Regions from separate parts of the Homo sapiens genome. Here all the other regions are linked to region 1. The links are contacts of gene promoters, found by promoter capture Hi-C in blood cells and fetal thymus (Javierre and others, 2016). All regions are on one chromosome and are shown on one strand. Each heading gives the region's core, a stretch centred on a gene start or on the middle of the fragment in contact. The rest is flanking DNA. Distances are from core to core; before and after follow the strand shown. Region 1 holds the start of COX18 (cytochrome c oxidase assembly factor COX18). Region 2 overlaps GRSF1 (G-rich RNA sequence binding factor 1). Region 3 overlaps MOB1B (MOB kinase activator 1B). Region 4 overlaps MOB1B (MOB kinase activator 1B). Region 5 overlaps DCK (deoxycytidine kinase).

What was found. Contacts are between HindIII fragments. The CHiCAGO score rates a contact against its expected background, and 5 or more counts as called.
Region 2: a fragment that was not itself captured here is called in contact with the fragment with the promoter of COX18 in region 1 in 4 of 17 cell types (total CD8 T cells, non-activated CD4 T cells, activated CD4 T cells and 1 more); the score reaches 11.1 in total CD8 T cells.
Region 3: a fragment that was not itself captured here is called in contact with the fragment with the promoter of COX18 in region 1 in 2 of 17 cell types (activated CD4 T cells and fetal thymus); the score reaches 6.1 in activated CD4 T cells.
Region 4: a fragment that was not itself captured here is called in contact with the fragment with the promoter of COX18 in region 1 in 1 of 17 cell types (total CD4 T cells); the score reaches 6.7 in total CD4 T cells.
Region 5: a contact is called between a fragment that was not itself captured here and the fragment with the promoter of COX18 in region 1, in 1 of 17 cell types (total CD8 T cells). The highest score is 6.2, in total CD8 T cells.

What each region holds. Positions count from the first base shown.
Region 1 is chr4:73,068,454-73,070,969 of GRCh38, forward strand. It overlaps COX18 (cytochrome c oxidase assembly factor COX18), which reads right to left and starts at 1,263. Exons shown (of 6, transcript NM_001297732.2): 1 at 864-1,263. The coding sequence starts at 1,196. It overlaps LOC112268467 (a long non-coding RNA gene), which reads left to right and starts at 1,493. Exons shown (of 2, transcript XR_002959797.2): 1 at 1,493-1,576. RefSeq lists enhancers at 582-1,097, 1,032-1,551, 1,098-1,614. The HindIII fragment of the contact is 3,732 bases long and covers 1-2,005 here.
Region 2 is chr4:70,834,704-70,837,219 of GRCh38, forward strand. GRSF1 (G-rich RNA sequence binding factor 1) reads right to left here. Exons shown (of 10, transcript NM_002092.4): 2 at 1,455-1,611. Among named protein-coding and RNA genes, the nearest start is that of GRSF1, 3.9 kb to the right of the region's middle. The HindIII fragment of the contact is 4,947 bases long and covers 1-2,516 here.
Region 3 is chr4:70,903,502-70,906,017 of GRCh38, forward strand. All of the region lies in intron 1 of MOB1B (MOB kinase activator 1B), which reads left to right. Among named protein-coding and RNA genes, the nearest start is that of MOB1B, 2.4 kb to the left of the region's middle. The HindIII fragment of the contact is 855 bases long and covers 832-1,686 here.
Region 4 is chr4:70,986,988-70,989,503 of GRCh38, forward strand. MOB1B (MOB kinase activator 1B) reads left to right here. Exons shown (of 6, transcript NM_173468.4): 6 at 1-1,181. Among named protein-coding and RNA genes, the nearest start is that of DCK, 5.4 kb to the right of the region's middle. The HindIII fragment of the contact is 3,316 bases long and covers 1-2,516 here.
Region 5 is chr4:71,026,023-71,028,538 of GRCh38, forward strand. It overlaps DCK (deoxycytidine kinase), which reads left to right. Exons shown (of 7, transcript NM_000788.3): 6 at 643-733. Among named protein-coding and RNA genes, the nearest start is that of DCK, 34 kb to the left of the region's middle. The HindIII fragment of the contact is 885 bases long and covers 818-1,702 here.

The DNA.
Region 1 (2,516 bases), core at 13-2,512:
ATCTCTACATTTCCTAGTAACGTAAGCGGAGAAAACAGCAGTTTGTTAAGAACCTTTAATACACTGTGATAGCCACAAATCAAAAGTAAAAATAGCATTTATTCCTGCCCTGTGCTCATTCTTCCTGTAAAATGGCTCACTGCCTTAATGTTGCTGCTGATTCCGTTCCTGTTTTGTTTCCGGTTTTTTTTCCCCATGCTCACAACCTGAAAACAAGAAAGCCACTATTTTTGAAATATCCCATTTGAATAATCAAGCACTTTAACCCGTATTATCTGACTTGCTCTGATAACGCTGTGAAGTAGGCAAGGAAGGTACTGCTAGCCTGATTCCTCAGAAAAAAGGATTCAGCATTAAAAGGTCAAGTAACTGCGACCAACCAGACACAGTCTTAGTCGGGTCTGGAGAGGAAACAAGTTCGCAAACTGTTAGTCTAGTAGTTTCTTCCTAATAAGAAAGACCAGCTGGAATACTTTGGGACGAAAGACACTGCAGACATACTGGCTATTAAAACTTTTAAGACATAAATTTTGTAGGTTTCGCCAACACAATTTCTTCTGCGACTGATTTCTTTGTCTCCGTTCCCCGAGAGCAAGTATAGTAACCACTTGTGCTTGGAGCACAAATCCAGTAAGACAAAAGAAATGACAGGTACACGTGTCACAAAGTATCTTATTTAACACACCTAATGCTAGTTCAATTTTTTTTAACGCTAAAATGGTCACAATGAAATGGTCACGATGATTAAACACTAAGCACTGCAGAAGGCAACATCGTGCGATCGAAAACCCTGAGTGAATGTCGGCCTTCCTCCGCCGCAGGGGTTGCAGCGCAGGGTACGCGCACGGCTCGGCGCCCCTCACCTTGGCCAGGATGTAGTGCTGGTAGGCTGCCAAAGGCAGCGTGACAGCACCCCGTAAGGCCACGGTGGAGAGCAGAATGCTGCCCCACCAGGGCAGGCCCGTGGCGGCGTGCACGCCGAGCAGTACTTCCTCCGCAACCCGCACCGGCGAAGACGCGGCCAGGGCCTCGTACCAGCCGTTCGCATGTACTGCAGAGACTGGTGCCACTGCCCACACTGGGAGAGTGGGGCGCTTGGCGCCGCTCGTAGGAACCGGCGCAAGCGGCAGGTCCCTAGCCCAAAGCTGCAGGGCAGGGAGCGGCCGCAGCCACCGACCGCCGAGCCGGCACAGCATTTCTGCACCACGGCGGAGCCCAGATCCCGGGCCTCACAATCCAGCGGACATACACCGGCCAGCCAAGGCTGATACGCGCACGCGCCAGCAACAGCGGGCATAAAGCGCATGCGCGCCTGCCTGCAGCCGCGATTGACCTTCCCAGTCAAGCCGGTGACGTCTTGCGTCGCAGTGGATGTGACGCAAGAGATAGGAAAGTCCCGCCTTTCCCACGCGGCACTGGACAGGCCTACTGCGCACACGCGAAAGTTTCCCGCTGCTAGGGTGTAGTTAGTCCGAGGCCGGACCAAAACTGCAGAGACATGGGTGGAGCCTGCTGCCCTCCGCCAGGCTGGGTGTTCTTTAGGGAGCTCTCGCCTTGTAAAGTTCATCTACACCGTGTAACTTACCATTCTTTTTCACTAAAGCTAATAGTCATTTGTAGTGGAATTATCCTTGCTCGGTTTTTTGTGACCAGAAGCTGATCCCCAACCTCTTTACGTGCACCTGATTGCTTCCGTTAGCGATTACGATAGATTATCATACTCAAGAGTCACACGTTGCTAAAGTACCTGCTTGTAGAGAGACGCATGTTTCTTGCTGACTCTGAGTGTTAAGCACGAGGGATAGTTCAGTCTCTTGTAGATTTAATTGGCCCATCTGTTCCAGTTAGTATTTGGACCACCAACTGCAAACTGAATTTCTTCGGTGTTTTGTCTTCCATGATAAATAGCAGCAAAAATCTTATAGTAAAAGTATCATCTCTTTATTTAAGGGAAACTATCACTGGCAGTACGGTGAATTCCTTGAGTTTACTTGTATCCTATATAAGCTTTAAAGAGCCTGAACAGCAGCACTGGCTGTCTTCTGGTTTAAAGGAATACGTTGAATCTACATGGACTATATAGTTTTAACTTTTGTGTTCCTGGAAACAACAAAATGGAATGTTGTGGAGGAGTTTCCTCACCGAAGGGTCACCCCTAGACTACAGACTAAAATATGTTGTGAGGAGTAAACCTTGATTTTTATTTATTTATTTATTTACTTACTTAGGAAAAGAAGCCTCCAACAATGTTGGGTAATGTCAAACGCCAGCTATTGTTTGCCCTTCACTGTGCACCTAACCAAGGGTACCCTACGATAACTTTCTCAGGATTCTGGAATTCATCTGCTTTCCAAACTGACTGATAAATCTATACATGAATTTTTAAATGTGTTTAAACACACAGCACAACACACACTATATATAAACTTTTTCTAAAAGAAAAACCTACCAATCTATTTCTTTATCCATTTATTAAGCTAACAAAAAAGCCATCAGTTGCTACTGACTACTGTTCA
Region 2 (2,516 bases), core at 6-2,505, 2.2 Mb before region 1:
CTCCGCCTCCCAGATTCAAGCGATTCTCCTGCCTCAGCCTCCCAGGTAGCTGGGACTACGGGAGCGTGCCACCACGCCCGGCTAATTTTTTTTGTATTTTTAGGAGAGATGGGGTTTCAACATGTTAGCCAGGATGGTCTCGATCTCCTGACCTCGTGATCCGCCCGCCTCGGCCTCCCAAAGTGCTGGGATTACAGGCGTGAGCCACCGCACTTGGACCCGATAGGTATTTTTTAATCTTCTCCCCAACCCTCAAGTTGGCCCTGGTGTCTTCTTGTTCCCCTCTTTGTGTCCATGTGTTCTCATTGTTTAGCTCCCACTTGTAAGTGAAAACATACAGTATTAAGTTTAATGTTCCATGTTAGTTTGCTTAGGATAATGGTCTCCAGCACCACCCACATTGCTGCAAAGCACATAATCTCACTCTTTGTTATGGCTACGTAGTATTCCATCATACCAGCCGGGCACGGTGGCTCACGCCTGTAATCCCAGCACTGTGGGAAGCCGAGGCAGGCAGATCACAAGGTCAGGAGATTGAGATCATCCTGGCTAACACGGTGAAACCCCAGCTCTACTAAAAATACAAAAAATTAACTGGGTGTGGTGGCAGTCGCTACTAGGGAGGCTGAGGCAGGAGAATGGTGTGAACCCGGGAGGCGGAGCTTGCAGTGAGCTGAGATCATGCCACTGCACTCCAGCCTGGCGACAGAGCGAGACTCCGTCTCAAAAAAAAAAAAACCTACATAGTATGATGGATTTTTTTTTTTTTTTGAGACAGAGTCTCACTCTGTCGCCCAGGCTGGAATGCAGTGGCACCATCTCGGCTCACTGCAAGCTCCACCTCCCGGATTCACACCATTCTCCTGCCTCAGCCTCCCAAGTAGCTGGGACTACAAGCCTGGGTAATTTTTGTATTTTTAGTAGAGACGGGGTTTCACTATGTTAGCCAGGATGGTCTCGATCTCCTGAGCTTGTGATCCGCCCGCCTCGGCCTCCCAAAGTGCTGGGATTACAGGCGTGAGCCACTGCGCCTGGCCCATACTATGCAGTCTTAACGTTAAAATACTTTTGTTGCATTCAAAGTCTTTATACATATGTAAATTGAGACAGTCTCACAGTGTTGCCCAGTGTGGTATGGAACTACTGGCCTCAAGCCATCCTTCCACCTTGGCCTCCCAAACTGCTGATTACAGGCCTGAGCCACTGCCCCTGGCCCAAAGTCTTTCAATTCGTTACATACCGCAAACAGCACACATGGTATCATTTGGTATATGCAACCAACCAGAATGAGACAGTTCCCAACCATCAAAAAGGAAGGTGACAGCGTAGTCTGACATGGATTTGTAGCACTACCTTTTACTCAGACAAAATTACATACTTAAAACATACATACCTGCTTGTGAGAAACAATATAAGGAAAAAAAATAAATAAATAAAACATACATAAAATATACCTGAAAAAAAGTTAAGCACATCTTCCATAGTGCATGACCAGGGCAGTCCTTGAGCTCGAATGAGAAAGACATCATCCACTTCCTCTTCTAACTTGGACGGGGCCAATTCATACTCAGGGGGTGGTGGAAGGTCTTCCAGGTAAGTAGTTTTGGACTCCTTCCAAAGGAAATGAAGAATTGTAAAAAGAGTTGCATTTACAGGTAAAAAATGTAAAAAAATTCTTAGAAAATGTTTATTCTACAAACTAACATTCTAGATGTTATTTCAGAAGCAAAAAGTAAACTTCACCAATGTAACCCATCCTGTTTTGGCTTAAATTGTACATCCAAAAGCCATAAGCAGGTATATCCTAAAGGTTTGGCAGGACACAAATTTCATTCAGGGTTTGTTTTAAAATTCATCAACCCCAAATTATAGCTAACAATAGTGTAGTTAAGGCAACACAAGAAAGGTCCTGACAATTTGACAAATATTTGATTGCCCCTACACACAGTGTTTGCCGCCCTCATCTGAAATAGCTATCTAGAATACGATAAGCATACAAGATGAGATACTGAGTGCTATAATTAAGATACAAAATACTACAGGAATTCAAATCAGAGCACTAACAGATGAATCAGGATGTGACATGAGATGGGCCTTGAAGGAAGGATAGAATTTTTATGAGGATATAAAAGATAGGGTATTCCAGTTTGAAGGCGAGAGAAAGAAGCAGTACGACCAAATGCCCATTTGAATAACAGCAATTAATTCCAACTGTTTAAATTAGGAGCCAAAGAAGGTGACCTGGCAAAAGAGGTTGGTACCATAGAGCAGAGGGCCTTGAGTGTGGAGCTCAATGTGTGTCCTTCACTTGGTAGGCAAAGATAAGTTAATACAAGACACTGAGGACTGGGTAAATCAACAAGACAGCAGGACGCCTTGGGAATATTCCTCTGTCAGCTGGTATGCCAGACCAAGTGATTAAGGGAAAGATCTTAAAGACAACGGCAGCAGTGTGAGGCTACAGACTTGTAAAGTCTCTTTTATCGGATTAAGTAAAACTGGAATTTAGTAAGAAT
Region 3 (2,516 bases), core at 9-2,508, 2.2 Mb before region 1:
TTGAAGGCTTCGTTGTGATGCACTCATTCCATGTTTAGTCTGTGTTTAGAAAACTAATAAAAAACTTAGAAGTTGAAACTCACCCATATACTGTTTTACTGTTGTGGAGAAATTAGCATTTAAAGGATATTTTCTTAAGATTTCTCTTCTTTCCTTGCCTAATAATTTTTAGTCATTACATTGACGTCTGAATACTGAGAATTTAATTCACTCTTATTTTCACATGCTCACATCTAGAATTTTTTTTTTTAGGGTGTTTAAGCAAAACTGAACAAGGCTGACCTAGGGGCAGACTTGATATTTCCAATATGCATAGGGGACCTGGCTTGTGTCAACTTGCCTAAAACCTTTAAACGGAAAGGGATTTCTTAGGCTCCTCCTAGAAGTTGATTCTGAGTTTGTCGGATTGGCATAGGGCTAGATGACAGGACTGGGTGATTTTATAAAAAAGTCCTTGTTTCTTATTTTAGTTCTTTTTTTTTTTTTTTTTTTTTTTTGAGACGGAGTCTCCGCTCTGTCACCAGGCTGGAGTGTGTAGTGGCGTGATCTCGGCTCACTGCAACCTCTGCCTCCCGGGTTCAAGCGATTCTCCTGCCTCAGCCTCCTGAGTAGCTGGGACTACAGGCCCGCGCCACCACGCCTGGCTAATTTTTGTATTTTTAATAGAGATGGGGGTTTCACCATGTTGGCCAGGCTGGTCTCGAACTCCTGATTTCAAGTGATCTGCCTGCCTTGATCTCCCAAAGTGCTGGGATTACAGACGTGAGCCCACCGTGCCTGGGCAGTTTCTTGTTTTAGTTCTAATCACCATATTCAGGTATCTCAACTTGAAGCTTCTCATCTTGAGCTTAATTTTACATTGCTAATGTTTGATTGTTTTCAAGAATTTAGAAGCTGTATTCAAAATAGCACTGTAGATGATATCCATGACTACTGCTGATGGGCTTGTGTCTAGTAAGCTAAATTGGTTAAAGCAAGGCCAGTCGCGGTGGCTCATGCCTGTAATCCCAGCACTTTGGGAGGCCAAGACAGGCAGATCACCAGGTCAGGAGTTCGAGATCAGCCTGGCCAATATGGTGAAACCCCGTCTCTACTAAAAATACAAAAATTAGCTGGGCAAGGTGGCACGCACCTGTAGTCCCAGCTACTTGGGAGGCTGAGACGGGAGTATCACTTGAACCCGGGAGGTAGAGGTTGAAGTGAGACGAGATCGCGCCACTGCACTCCAGCCTGGGTGGCAGAGTGAGACTCTGTCTCAAAAAAAAAAAAAAAAAAGGTTAAAGCAGGGAAGAGCCATATTTGGCTGAAACTAGGGGATGGAGAAGTTTCTGATGCTATTTTTTGAATACAAATACAGTAGAATCCTATTTTTACATGGCTCAGTATTTAATAGATTCAGATTTGTGGTGGATTAGTTTGTTTCTCCTGAAGGTTAGTAACTACAAAAGAAATCTTGCTGTAACTAATGTATATAGAACTTTAGAGCATTTGCACTATTTGGGGCACAATTTTTCAGTTAGGTTATATCTATCTAGCAGTTGATATATTCTCAACATATTTAGCCCATGTGCTTGACAATCAGAAAAGTTAATTCAACATTTTCAGTTTTGGTCTTTGTCTACCGTCAATTAAAAATCCAAAGTGAACACCACATGGAAATGATTATTATTGGAAGTGAAAGAACAAAGCTTTGGTTATTTCTTCTATTTGTTATTTGGTATAACTGTCTGAATACTGTTTCTTTTTTTTTTTTTGGAGACAGGATCTCACTCTGTCGACCAGGATGGAGTGCAGTGGCATGACCACAGCTAACTGTAGCTTTGACTTCCCAGGCTCAGGTGATCCTTTCATCTCAAACCCCCTCCCCGCTACAAGTAGCTGGTACTACAGGTATGCTCCACTATGCCTAGCTAATTTTTTTTTTTTCGGTAGAGTCAGGGTTTTGCCATGTTGCCCAGGCTGGTCTCCTGGGCTCAAACAATCCACTCATCTTTGCCTTCCAAGATGCTGAGGTTACAGGTGTGAGCCATTACACCTGGCTATCTGAATACTATTTCTGTACCAACAGATGAGCAGAGAAGGAAAGCGTTACAGCTTAGGAGTTAAATACAAATATTTTCCTCCCGTTCTTGGAAGCTTACTGGGAAGCCTACGATCAGTGGATGGAGCAGAGGAAATAAGGGCAATGCAAGATGGGGCTGCAAAGGTGGTGACTCATGACTCTTGAGGGCTCTAAGATAGAAGGAAAGAACTACTACTGATTTTTAAAAGATGCACTGTGGGCCGGGCACAGTGGCTCCTGCTTGTAATTCCAACACTTTGGGAGGCTGAGGTGAGTGGATCACTTGACCCCAGAGTTCCACACCAACCTGGACAACATGGCGAAACTCTCTTTCTACCCCTAAAAATACAAAAATTAGCCAGGTGTGGTGGTGTGAGCCTGTAGTCCCAGCTACTCTGGGGGCTGAGGTGGAAGGGTCATCTGAGCCTGAGGAAATTAAATACTTCAAGGCTGT
Region 4 (2,516 bases), core at 8-2,507, 2.1 Mb before region 1:
GCATATAGAACTAAATAATTGAAAAATATGGGCTATAGTTCTCAAAGGTAGATAGTAAAATCACTGGCTTTTTCCAGCTGTATGTTTTTCCACTGTGCGTGTACACACACACTGGAAAATAATTAGGCTGATTTTGCAGGTCTTCATTGTTAGAGATTCTGAAGTATTTACTGTCAATTCATAGGTTTCAGTTTATTTAGGAAATTAGTGTTTGACAGCTTTTTTTAAATTATTTCACTGAAGCTGAGATTATTAGTGATACAAAGTTAAAATTTCAATATTTAATTTCTCTATATATTATTAATATTAAATTGTTTTTTACTTATAAATTCATGTTCTCATCTGATTTAATATTAAATTTGTATAGGTGGGCGTTTCTTACCATTTTGCACAAGTTTTTGTTTTTCTGAAATACTTAATTGTGCAGGTTGTAAAAAAGATTAGTGCATTTTCATTTTAAGGATGCTTTGCTCCTTAAATTGTTCGACAGAAATGACTTTTTAGGGAAAGTAGTTTTTTTGGAGCTACTAACTTGTATTTATTATTGTACATGCATAACCAGGGTGGTGAGGGCACTAATCTTGTAGGAAACACTTACTTGATGTTTTATTTGAACTTTTCCTATAGGTTTAACTTTTACTGCATAGAATTAACACTAGGAACAGTGTCATGAAATCTGGGTTGAAGGAGAATACAGTATATATGAGAACACTTAAAGTTCAAATAGAAATCATTTCTGAAGACAAAAGCAGAGGAATATTGTCAGTGCCAAGTAATGGAAGAATAAGGGCGGCATTTACACTGTGCAAGTATTGAGAAGAGTGCATAAAGACAGGGAACTACTCTCATGGAGACAGTTTCTCTCTTATAATCAAGTAACTAGAAGGGGAAAAATCATCTAAGTTATGAAATCCAACATAGGCGCTATATTACAAACTGTGCCGGATTATGCAAATTGTAGTTGTTACTGATCAAAGTTTAATTGCTTCATTTTTGTTTAAAAAGGGATACTGATGTCAGAAAATCTGTAATATGTTTTATTCAAAAGATGTAAATAATGTATACAGACTTGTATGTGATGGGATGGGAAATATTTAAATTCTAGGTGTTTTTTTTTTTTTAAAGAAGAAACTCAATGTTTATAAGAAAAAAATGAATAAATAGTTACGTTTGGCCATGAATCCTGACTTTGCATTACTGTTTATTTTTGCTATAGGCATTCCCACACTAAACACATTCCAAGGGAAATATTGATGGCATATGGAATATGTTGAACATTTAAAATTTGTTAGGCACTATTTTCTGTAATGTTCACAACAACCAGTGTCTTAACATCTTAGAAAACTAAAGCTCAGAAATTGTACAAGTCACTGATTTGGATTACGGTTTTAAAACCCTACTGTGTCTGAACTTGAAACCAGTGTTTCTGTTTTACTTTTTTCACTTTTTTCTTTATTCTGCAGTATGCAGGTGTATGTTTTCTATAATATATACTATTACAGTGAGAACAGTTAGCACAGTAATAATCATTTGTTGACCTCTTCACCAAGCTATTATTTAATATTTTGTCTTCATTACAGATCATTAAGGAATATTAATAATATTGGAGAATCATTTACCAAGTTCCAAAAGGAAATGTGTATTTTATTTTATTTTATTTATGAGACGGAGTCTTGCTCTGTTGCCCAGGCTGGAGTGCAATGGCACGACCTCAGCTCACTGCAACTTCCACCTCCTGGGTTCAAGTGATTCTCCTGCCTCAGCCTCCCAAGTAGCTGGGATTACAGGCATATGCCACTATGTCCGGCTAATTTTTTGTATTTTTAGTAGAGACAGGGTTTCACCATGTTGGCCAGGCTGGTCTCAAAACTCCTGACCTAAGGTGACCCATGAGCTTTGGCTTCCCAAAGTGCTGGGATTATAGGCGTGAGCCATCGCGCCTGGCCAAAACGTGTATTTTAGAAGTCTTCTCAGAGTATCAGAAGTATTTATGTTAGAGGCATTTGTGTTTGAATCTTCAGGTTAAGAATATTTAATGGTAGTAGCCACAGTTGCTCAAAGTCACTAATGGTATTTGGGAGAAAGACTAGTTGAAATGCTAGCCAATGCTGTTGTGGACTGTGTCTGCATGCTTTAAAAACGCCCTGTGGGCCGGGCGCGGTGGCTCACGCCTGTAATCCCAGCACTTAGGGAGGCCGAGGTGGGCGGATCACGAGCTCAGGAGTTGAGACCTGCCTGGCCAATGTGGGGAAACCCCATCTCTACTAAAAAATACATTAAAAAATTAGCCGGGCACGGTGGCGCTTGCCTGTTGTCCCAGTTACTCGGGAGGCTGAGGCAGGAGAATTGCTTGAATCCGAGAGGCGGACTGTGCCACTGCACTCCAGCCTGGGCGACAGAGCAAGACTCCGTCTCAAAAAATAAAAAAATAAAAACACTCTGTTATTCATTTATTGTGTGTAAAGAAATATATATTGTAAAATTACCTACATTTTGATAATTAGGTTCATTTACCT
Region 5 (2,516 bases), core at 10-2,509, 2.0 Mb before region 1:
ATGTAAAATTTCCAGTCGTTTTGCTTATTGGTATCTTCCAGAACTAGGTATAGATTTTCATTCTCTTGATTGCAATGAGATCCTATTTACTTAAAGTTTTTATAACTAGTATCCCTTGGTGGTATTGATAGCGTAATATGTGAAATTTCACTTTAAGTGATAAAGTAGGAATATATCTGAACATTATTTAGGTACTCTTTCAGAAAGAATTTTGACTTGGGAGATTGTATAGCGTGGTTGTTGAGAGGATAGACTTTGTTATTAGTCAGATCTTGGCTCAAGTCCAGTCTTACTGGTGTGTGACCTTGGATAGCCTCTGAGCTTCAGAATGACAATTCTGAGCTTTAGTTTTCTCATCTTTAAAAATGCAGAAATTCCTACTTTATTGACTGCTATTTGTTTTTGAAGAGAATCATATGTTACAGTACCCAGCTGTATATATTTTGTACCTAAGTTTTTGGGCTCCATATGGTAAATCTAGATGAGAAAGAAGGGGCTGCCAGATGAAGTACTGCAAAGTAACTTTAGTGTAAATGATTGACAACATTTTGATTTTCCAAGGACATACGAATGAATTTTTAATGTTTCTCTCTTTTTTTTGTTGAATTTCTGATTATTTTATTAATCTCTCTTTTTAAACAGAACCAACTTCGATTATCTTCAAGAGGTGCCTATCTTAACACTGGATGTTAATGAAGACTTTAAAGACAAATATGAAAGTCTGGTTGAAAAGGTAGATTTAGACAGACTACAAACAAATATTTGTTTTTTCTAAAAAAGTGTACTGAGTGGTGAGAAAACAATTTTCTAACAGAAAAGCTTCCATAAAGTTACATTAAGAAACAGTTAAGAGCTTTAGAAGATTTTGGACTGTTTAAGATTCCAGTCCTGACTAAATTCTAGCTTTGTGGCCTGAGCTAAAATAAAGATCCTTCGGAATCTCAGAATCTGACAGATCTTAGAAAAAAATTAAATAAATAAAAATAAAATAAGGATTTTTTTTTATCCTTTAGTGCCTCTATCTGTAGGATAGGTAAAATTATAATAACAAAAATTCTTTCTCACCCCCTTTTTCTCTGCTTTGTCCCCATTTCTTCCTCTCTTCCCTACACCACCAATCTTTAGATACTTTAATAATAAACTGCTTGTGAAATTAAATTTATCTTTTTCAACTAAATTCAATATGGAGGATATTTAAAGTTACAGGATATGGATCTCATCTATTTTTATGTTGGCCAAAGTCTTGAGATTAAGGGATTTTAGTTTTGAGTTTCATTTGGGATCATGTCAAGGATTAATTGACATTACTTAATCATTGAGTCATTGTCTTAATCACAGTTCATTTATTGCCCAAATCACTGGGAGTTGACTATATTCTGTTAAGTGAGTGGTGCCCATATTGATAAAGGGAATGGGTGAGAATTTATTGATGAATATTTGAGAGAGAATAGTAAGGGAATTGGTATAACAAATATCCCTATACCCATGTTGATAACTGAGTGATTAAGCTATAAAGAAGAAAGCACAATTTGGTTTAGTTTTGAGAAAAATTTGATTTTTCCTTTCTTTTGTGGCATAATGTCTGCTGTTTAATAGAGACTTGACATTCATAAGGGATATATCAAGGATTTTGAAAATCTTGACATTTTATGTAACTACTGTAGCGTATACATGTAGTTGTTTTTCCCATGGTATGAACTAAAGCTTATCTGGAAAATTCCAATGACCTCTTCATACTACTAATGATGTTAAAAATATAGGATAAATTCACTTACAATACTATTAAATGAAAAGTCAGCATTAAGTATTAACAGCCAACCATCAATTTAACTGACTTTGTAAATCACTTTTTAATTTTATCTAACACTTCTTTGTTTTGACTAAGAATCATTTCACATTATTATATTTACTTTTATTAATAATGCTAGCAGTTGACTTTCTTATTAAGGTATTTTTACAAGGCAATAATTTTTGTTTCTTGAGAATTATTGAGTAGCCTAGAATATGTAGAGAACAAGCATATTCTTACATTATGGTCAGTAGGCTAGGTTCATTGACTCCTTACATGATTTTCTGCACACACTGACATTGCAAAGTATGTGATTCACATATGTGCTTCAGAAACATGACAAATCTACTACATGTTTGATTTTCAAAGTTGCTTGAACTATTGTGCTTATTAATGTTATCAGTGTTAAAGCTGCATATGTCAGTGGTCTATGATATTTAAATGAAGAGATTATAAAATTGGTGTTACAGCTATTTTAGAACTATATCTATCTTAGATTGATAGATGCAGTGGCTCACACCTGTAATCCCAGCACTTTGGGAGGCTGAGGTGGGAAGACTGCTTGAGCCCAGGAGTTCCTGACCAGCTTGGGCAACATAGTGAGACCTCATCTCTATAAAAAACAAACAAAAACTAGCCAGACATGATGGTGTGCACCTAGCCAGGAGTTCAAGGCTGCAGTGAGCTTTGATTGCACCACTGTACTCAGCCTGGGTGACAGAGCAAT